2 separate regions of the Homo sapiens genome follow, and region 1 is linked to region 2. Evidence: promoter capture Hi-C in 16 types of primary human blood cells and fetal thymus (Javierre and others, 2016). All regions are on one chromosome and are shown on one strand. Each heading gives the region's core, a stretch centred on a gene start or on the middle of the fragment in contact. The rest is flanking DNA. Distances are from core to core; before and after follow the strand shown. Region 1 holds the start of LOC105369937 (a long non-coding RNA gene). Region 2 holds the start of SYCP3 (synaptonemal complex protein 3).

Region 1 (4,729 bases), core at 1,512-4,011, 88 kb before region 2:
TCATCTTGAGTGCGAGCAGGTGGCTCGTGTTCTTTTAACACAATTTTGTAGACAATATTTGTTACATTATGAATCTACTGATGGATACAGAGATTGATTCGTACATTTTTTAATTCAACAAATAGTTCTTGTGTGTCTCATATCCTCCAGAAATTCTTCAGGATATTGCAATAAGCAAGATGGACAAGGTATTTTTCCTGAAGGATCTTTTACAAACCTTTTTAATATTTTATCTTAATTCAGGTTTAAGAATGGTGAAGAGATTATCCCTGGTCCAAAATCAAGATACCGAATTAGAGTTGAGGGTAAAAAACACATCTTGATCATAGAGGGAGCAACAAAGGCTGATGCTGCAGAATATTCAGTAATGACAACAGGAGGACAATCATCTGCTAAACTTAGTGTTGACTGTAAGTGAGACTTCTTTAGATGTCTTCTCAGTGGGCTTATTAATGATGGTTGTGTTAATTCGGTTTCAGAAAAGTTTCTATTTGATTTCTATTTGCGATGATTTTTAAGTATGTAAAATGGATTTCATTCCAGCTAAGTGTCTATGTCAGATCAATCAGGATATTTAAGGAAGGAACCACGACTCAATTTAATAGTAGAGCGCCAATATTAGGAAGGAAGTATAAAAATCACCTGCCAGAAGAGTTATAATTCCAAGACCGTAAAAATAGGGGATAAATACTTAGATACGATGTCATATCCTGATAATGTTAGCTAGCTATTCATCAAATAACCATTCAACACTCTGCAATTACATTTGGCATGAGAAGAAAGTAATTCAAACCAAAAGGGCTCAATTGAGAAGATTGTAAGAGCTAATTTGCTAGTAGGCTTCAGAGGCATGAGAGAATTAATGTACTTCCCTCAATGCCCTCTACTTCTAGTCAGTTAGCAATGGCAGAATCTCTCCCAATTTGCCATAAAAATTAAAACAGCAAATATCTCAAGATGATGTCACAAAAAGAGCAGAAATCTTACTTCCACATTTATTGCTTAGTCCAGTTGCAGTTCATATAATCATTGAATTATTCAGGATCAATCCCAATACATTCCTTATGCTTTATGGATCTGTGGCCATTTTAGTTTAACATCAAGAAGTCTTTCAGCCATAGACAGATCCTTATCTGATATTTGTATCCATTTAAAGCAATTATAATCCATTCTGCTATGATGTAACATGTGCATTTCTAAAAATAATTATGCTATGCAAAGTCATGCAGTAAAAACCATAGGGTTTGTAGGGGAAATGGGATTATGGGTATGACACTCAAGAATTTTGCTGGTTTATTAGTCCGTTCTCATGCTGCTAATAAAGACATACCCAAGACTGGGTAATCTATAAAGGAAAAAGCTTCAGTTGACTCACAGTTCCGCATGGCTGGGGAGACCTCAGGAAACTTACAATCATGGCAGAAGGGAAAGCAAATATGTCCTTCTTCACATGGTGGCAGCAAGGAGAAGTACCAAGCAAAATGGCAAAAGTCCCTTATAAAACTGTCAGATCTCATGAGAACTCAGTCACTATCATGAGAACAGCAGCAGGGGGGTAACCGCCCCCATGATTCAATTACCTCCCACCACGTCCCTCCCATGACATGTGAGGATTATAGGAACTACAATTCAAGATGAGATTTAGGTGAGGGCACAGCCAAACCACATCAGTCAGCGACATATTTTTTAAAATATAAGAACCCAGTAAAAAGTAGTAGCACAGTTTTACACATGCTAAATGGTTAATAAATATAATAAATATGGCACTTAATGTTGAAAAAGACCTGAGATTTGCTTACAGAATTAATGCTGGAAGTGTTGTGGCTTGTGAACTGTTGTGAAGCAGTAGAAAGAGGATTATTCAAAATCTGATGAGTAGTTGTGACCTCAGATGTAAATGGGTGTGGCTTATATCACATGGATGAACTGAGGTAGCTGATAGATGTTTGAGGTGTGAGTCTGCAGATTTTGTGCATTCCTTGCTGGGTCATTTCAGCTGGATGCAATTTTCTGCATTCACCTAGTTTTTCTAAGGAATGAAATTGTACAGAATCAAATGTGAAATTATCCTCTAATATATTAATTGCATTGGTACAGCTTCTCACTTTCAAAACAAACATTGTAGTAGAGCTCACTATACCATTGTGAAATGCCACCATCTTGGCCTGTTGGGAGTTTGGGCTTGGCATTTGTGATGGTCTATCATTTCTACAGTGAAACCTCTGAAGATTTTGACACCTCTGACTGATCAGACTGTAAATCTTGGAAAAGAAATCTGCCTGAAGTGTGAAATCTCTGAAAACATACCAGGAAAATGGACTAAAAATGGCCTACCTGTTCAGGAGAGTGACCGTCTAAAGGTGGTTCACAAGGGAAGGTAAGCGAGCCAGGTGACCCGCAAGTGAGGTTTGGTCCCATTTCTACTTTCTCCATTTTCTAAATTACATATTTGGTGAGGATATTTGAAGGGTAGCCATAGGGAGATCATCTATTCCTGATTCTTCGCTTCCAACTAGCAAGAAGGTGTGATTTCTCTGTTGTATAGCATGTCCTACTCATAATCCTGTATCTGTACCTCACACTATGGTACTTTGTCTATTCAAAATCCATTGACTCTTTTTCCATTTAAACATGAAGTTAGAGGCCAGGCACCATGGCTCATGCCTGTAATCCCAACACTTTGGGACGCCAAGGCAGACGGATCAATTGAGCTCAGGAGTTCAAGAGCTCCTGGGCTACATGGCAAAACCTCATCTCTACAAAAAACACAAAAATTAGCCAGGCGTGGTGGCATGCACCTGTAATCCCAACTACTTGGGAGGTGGGAGGATGGCTTGAACCCAGTAGGGGGAGGTTGAAGTGAGCTGAGATCACACCACTGCATTTCAGCCTGGGAAACAGAATGAGAGACCTTGTCTCTAAAATAAATAATAAACATGAAGTTAGAGGAAAAATACTGAATTCTAATTGAGGACCTGATCAAATGGATTAACCGTCTCTAACCAATAAGTGTCACAATGCCTTCCCACAAATCTTTATTTGCGTAGGGGACATAATATCCTAGAATCTGGCAAAGATCTAAGGCAAGAGTTTAACTTTGAATTCATGGGCTTTTAGGGTATCATAAATGAACTTTAGGAAGCCCCATAACTCCTGTGAAATTGTGAGAAAATTCTATGTGTACAAAAATACATACTGTTTACACAGAAAGGATTCATAGTGTCCATCAGATATTCACTAGTTTGTGACCCCAATAAAGTTAAGAGCTATTGTTCTTAGGGTTTGGGATGTAAAGCCAAAATCAAGATTATTCTTGGCATCTCTTGAATCTTAAAGTATAGCATTATTGATATGTTCTATTTTAGCCTTTTTAAAGCTATGAGATGAAAAAAAAGAATAATAGACTCTGCATATACAATAAGCAGATTCTATTTGTGGAGATAATTCCATATAGTCCAAAATAAAGATTTAATTTGAATCAATAAGTAGGATAATTAAGGCTTCTCATCCTCTCTCTCTCTCTCTCTCTTTCTCTCTCTCTCTCCCTCTCTTTCCTGCACTAAAGAAGTTAATCAGATAAAGGTCAAGTGTCTTTTCAGCTTGGGTCATATATAAACTAGATCTTTGGAGTCTTAGAAATACATTTTCCTTGTTTCCTTAGGATCCACAAGTTAGTGATAGCCAATGCCCTCACTGAAGATGAAGGTGATTATGTATTTGCACCTGATGCCTACAATGTTACTCTGCCTGCCAAAGTTCATGTTATTGGTGAGTAGATAAAATAATTCATTGCATAGTTGTGTTCTTTTTTGTTTGCTTTTGCTTACCATGGAATTATAATATATTCAAAACTAAGTGACATTTAAGGAAAAATACATCAATTGGTATTAATCACCAATCAGAAAGATTGGTGACTTATACCAACACCTTACAATAAAATGGTTTTGCAAGGTGCCAGGCACCAACTATCTTGACTCCTCTTATATTCTTTTTGATTAGATAAAATATTGGTTACTACCATCATACTAGCCAAACATTAGTGCAGATATTTACACAGAAATGACTGTCTGATAACAAAGACTATGCTTAATATTCTAGATCCTCCTAAGATCATCCTGGATGGTCTTGATGCTGACAACACAGTGACAGTGATTGCAGGAAACAAGCTTCGTCTTGAGATCCCCATCAGCGGAGAACCACCTCCTAAAGCCATGTGGAGCCGGGGAGATAAGGTTTGTTTTATGCTTGCACACACTCACATGCACACACACATATGCAGACACACTGCCTACCCCACCCCTTGCCCTCCATTATTCAGATGAAGGTAGAAAACAAATAAATGTACAGCAGTACAGTAAAGATGTAATTCCTTTGAAAAAGAAAGATGACTGATTTTCAGGCAAATCTGATCATCATTAATTTACTTCTCATATTTCTGACTATTATGTAGCAAAGCATGTTTTGATGCACAGTGAAAAAGCCTCATTTTTATTCTAATGAAATTGGGGGGATGAAAAAGAAAATGAATTATTAAATAAATAAATGAACAAAGTCACTTTGGATAGTAATAAGTACAAGAAGATAATAAAAGAGAATGATACAATAGCAAGTAACTGCATAGTCAATGGCAGCCTCTGTGAAGAACAAGGAACCCATTATGTGAAGATCAAACGGAAGACATTTCCATACGGAGGCAATTACAAGTGCAAAGGCCAAGGGGAGAGAATAA
Region 2 (4,556 bases), core at 167-2,666:
GGATTGTTGAATACAATTTTAACAGTTTCCTCATTTATTTGGGGGGCCAAAAGTTAAGAAGATAATGACATTTGTTAAAAAATAATAAAATAAATAGGCCAAGCACGGTAGCTCACGCCTGAAATCCCAGCACTTTGGAAGGTTGAGGCAGGCAGATCACCTGAGGTCAGGAGTTCAAGACCAGCCTGGCCAACATGATGAAACCCCGTCTCTACTGAAAAAAAAAAACAAAATTAACCGGGCGTGGTGGCACGTGCCTGTAGTCCCAGCTGCTCAGGAGGCTGAGGCAGGAGAATCGCTTGAACCCGGGAGACAGAGGTCACAGTGAGCCAAGATCGCAGCCACTGCACTCCAGCCTGGGTGACAAGAGTGAAACTTCGTCTCAAAAAAAAAAAACAACAACAGAAATGGCCGGGCGCTGTGGCTCATGCCTGTAATCCCATCACTTTGGGAGGCCGAGGTGGGTGGATCACCTGAGGTCAGGAGTTTGAGACCAGCCTGGCCAACATGGTGAAACCCCGTCTCTACTAAAAATACAAAATTAGCCGGGCGCGGTGGCGGGTGCCTATGATCTCAGTTACTCAGGAGGCTGAGGCAGAAGAATCGCTTCAACCCGGGAGGCGGAGGTTGCAGTGAGCTGAGATGGCCCCACTGCACTCCAGCCTGGGCGACAGAGTGAGACTTCGTCTCAATCAATCAATCGATGAGAGAGAATGACAGTGTCCACCCCGACTCCAAGCGCGCAGTGCTGGAGAGGTGGCCCCTGAGGCCTGGGAGTTCCAAATTTTGGGGCCGCCTCTGCCAGATTCTGGCTAAATCTGGGCAACTCTAGCAGGGCGCTCAGTCACGCGGGGAAATTATAGTTGCTGGCGGGACACGACATGAGGATGCCAGAAATAAGCTCATAATAATCAAGACAAATAATAAAAACGTCCCGCAATTTAGGTCTCGGAAAATGAACACAGGCAGAAGATTTCGACAACAAATACATCGAGGAACCACGAAAGGCGCCCTCGGCGTGGAGCGGGCAGGAGGGAGACGCGCGGAGCGAGGTAGGGCCCTGCCCGGCCCCGCCGCGTCCCTCCTGTAAGTGGTCCCAGGGTGTAGCGATGGGGCCCAGCCCCAGCCCAGCCCGCCCGCTTTCCACTAGGCCCTATCCTGCTCAAGGCCCTGTCCTCAGGTTCGCGGCCTCCGTTTTCTCGTCAGAGGCCCCAGGCGACGCCAGGAGGTAAGATTTACCTCACTGGTCAAGGGCAGCCTCTGGCCTGGACACCTGCGATAGACAGACGCCTCCCCTGCTCACACCTGAAACACACCGCAATGGCCGAGGACCAGTTACTGGTCGTCGACAGGCGTCCTCCACAACTCCTCCACAAGCGCGCTTCACCTGAGGTGGCCCCTTCTCCGCGACGCTTCTGAGGCAAGCTGGGATTCGCACAGGAGAAAAGCCAGTCCCGCCTCATCCGGACACGTCGCTGATTGGCTGGACGCAGAGCGCAGGCGTGAACTGGGTGGCGAGGCTCCGCCCCCATGGGGCGATTGCGCGCCCAAATAGCTGGCCCAGGGTGCTTTGGCCGCCGGAGCGGGTTGCGAGTACACTTGAGGCCTGGTGCCTTCCAGTTTTTAAGTTTTAAATGTTTATAATCGAAAATTGCAGCTAGGCGCAGTGGCTCACACCTGTAATCCCAGCACTTTGGGAGGCCGAGGCAGACGGATCACTTGAGGTCAGGAGTTCCAGACCAGCCTGTCCAACATGGCGAAACCCATCTCTACTAAAAATACAAAAATTAGCCGGACGTGGTGGCGGGCGCCTGTAATCCCAGCTACTTGGGAAGCTGAGGCAGGAGAATCGCTTGAACCCGGGAGGCAGAGGTTGCAGTGAGCAAGACCATGCCATTGTACTCCAGCCTGGGCAACAGAGTGAGACTCCATGTCAAGAAAAAAAAAAAGAAAATTGCGGAATAATATGTAAATTATGAAACATGATGAACATACCACCTAATTTATGAAGTAGGGCTTTACCAACATTCACTGAATCTCCTCAGGCAGGCCTTTCCATCCGATCCTCACCAGGACCCCACCCTTCCCCATTCAGGGATATAAGAAAATTATCCTAAATTTATGTAAATCATTCACCCTTCCTTATTTTCTAAGTTTTATTACCACATGAAAATGTGTCGTTAAACAACACGGCTTAGTTTCGTTCGCGTTTGGCATTACAAAAAATTGTCCCATAGTCTATGTAGTGTTCTGACAGTCCACTAGAATGGCAAAACTACAAAATATGACTACACGGAGTGATGATGAATCTATGTAACAAAGGGAACCCATTCAGTGGGTGGGAGTATAATTGTAAAACAATTATTTGGTGTAACTGGAAATCACCTATCAATTGCAAAACAATTTTTGAAGATACAATTTATGAAGGAAATGAAACTCACCTATAATCCCACTACCCAGAAATAATATACAGTTTAAAATTGGGGGTATTATTGCCTTTCATCCTTTTTTCTGTGCTTATATGTATTTTCCCCCAAATAATTTTAAAATATATTTCAACCTTTGTACCTGCCTTAGTTTGCTCACAGCTCTGCAATCCTTTTTCTATTTGAAATCATACATTTTACTTTTTTTTTTTTTTTTTTTTTGAGACAGGGTTTTGCTCTCTTGCCAAGGCTGAAGTGCAGTGGCATGGCATGATCACGGCTCACTGCAGCCTTGATTTCCTGGGCCCAAATGATCCCCCTGTCTCTGCCTCCTGCGTAGCTGGGACTCATGCACGTGCCACCATGCCTGGCTAATTAAGAAAAAAAAAAAAAAAAAGTTTGCCGAGATGGGGTCTCACTATGTTGCCCAGGCTGTTCTCAAACTCCTAGGCTCAAATGATCCTCTCACCTCGGCCTTCCAAAGTGCTGGGATTACAGGCATGAGCCAACTTGCCTGGCCTATATTTTACTTCTTTAATATTTGGCAAAGGCTTCAGGATCTTATTGACGCCAATCACTTTTCAACTGCCTAGTTCAAGTAAGAGATTCAAAGGAACCCTCCTGTTTACTGTTTTGCTTTGAATCCTCTTCCTTATGATGCTCAGCATTCCACTGGCTCGTTTAAATACACCAGTGTATTGGGTAAGGAATGACGGATGACGACTCCCAGACTTGTTCCTGTAATTCCATTCACTACATCAAACCTGTTGATACAGGATACAGTGAACCTTGTAAATTTTTCATTACTGAAAGGATTCAAAAAAGTTTGTAAAGCGTTAGTACAGTACCTGCCACATAATAAATGTGCCATAAATGGTGGCTTTTATGATTGACAATTGGTCCCAATTGGAATCCTGCTTTTCCTCTCTTGCCAGCCTCATTCTTGGCCTCATACTGCATCAGCCACATTGCGTTTTCCCAAATGTGCTGTGCACTCTTATGCCTCCATACCCTTATAGATGCTGTTCTTATTAAGTAGTTCCATTCACTACATCATCATATTCAGTTGTTTTTCCTACAGTGACCCTTACAGAAGAGCATCTGTCATTTTTCTTCTTTATTCGTAATAAAAATTTCCCAAGATTATCTCCAGCACCTTGGCATTTCACTGCTGTAAAGAGCATGTCTGGAGATTTCACCATGTGCTTCAGCAGGTAATTTATAGATGATTTTTAACCCACACACCAATATTTCATGACCTGTCTCAGCATTCATTCTTAGATGACCACATTGTTAATACTTCCCCATATAGATCATCACCCATTTATTCCAATCATCTGGATTCCTAACAAAACATTTTCCCATTTTCTTTAGTAACCAATGGTGTAGAATCTTGTCATTATTGTTTGAAAACCTAAATATTACATCCCTTGTTTCCTTACTCAGTCTCAAAGAACTCAGGTAATATAGTCGAAATCTTAGAGGCCAGGAGCAGTGGCTCATGCCTGTAATCTCGGCACTTTTGGAGGCTGAGGTAGGAGGATCGTTTGAGCCCAGGAGTTTGAGACCAGTCTGGACAAAATGGTGAGACCCCATCTCTATTTATAATAATTTTTAAAAACTCATAGAAATGTCTCCATAGATAAACTACTCAGTAGGTAATAAGAACAGCATCTTTAAGGGTATGGAGGCATAAAAGTGCACAGCACATTTGGGAAAATGCAACGTGGCTGACACAATGAGGCCAAGAATGAGGCTGGCAAGAGAGGAAAATCAGGATTCCAACTGGCACCAATTGTGAATCATAAAAGCCACCATTTATGGCGCATTTATTATGTGGCAGGTACTGTACTAATGCTTTACATTTTTTTAAATCCTTTCAGTAATGAAAAATTTACAAGGTTCACTGTACTCTCTATCAACAGATTTGATTTTTCCAATTGCTTTCAAGTATGGCAGCTTGCCTTCACCTTGAGTACCTAATCCAGGAACTTGGTCTTCCACCTGCACCATCTCTAATCTGTGAAGCTGGAAGGTGATGTTTTGTAAGCCCAGCATCCCTCCCCTCCTTCCTTGGGTAAAAATCTCCATCCCTCTGGCTACAGAGGTGGGCACAGAGCCCAGAATGAG

What was found. Contacts are between HindIII fragments. The CHiCAGO score rates a contact against its expected background, and 5 or more counts as called.
Region 1: a contact is called between a fragment that was not itself captured here and the fragment with the promoter of SYCP3 in region 2, in 1 of 17 cell types (total B cells). The highest score is 7.4, in total B cells.

What each region holds. Positions count from the first base shown.
Region 1 is chr12:101,649,017-101,653,745 of GRCh38, forward strand. It overlaps MYBPC1 (myosin binding protein C1), which reads left to right. Exons shown (of 32, transcript NM_002465.4): 15 at 244-410; 16 at 2,215-2,377; 17 at 3,662-3,768; 18 at 4,099-4,232. It overlaps LOC105369937 (a long non-coding RNA gene), which reads right to left and starts at 1,855. Exons shown (of 2, transcript NR_188371.1): 1 at 1,800-1,855. The HindIII fragment of the contact is 2,806 bases long and covers 1,359-4,164 here.
Region 2 is chr12:101,738,046-101,742,601 of GRCh38, forward strand. SYCP3 (synaptonemal complex protein 3) reads right to left here and starts at 1,417. Exons shown (of 9, transcript NM_001177949.2): 1 at 1,306-1,417. The HindIII fragment of the contact is 5,223 bases long and covers 1-4,556 here.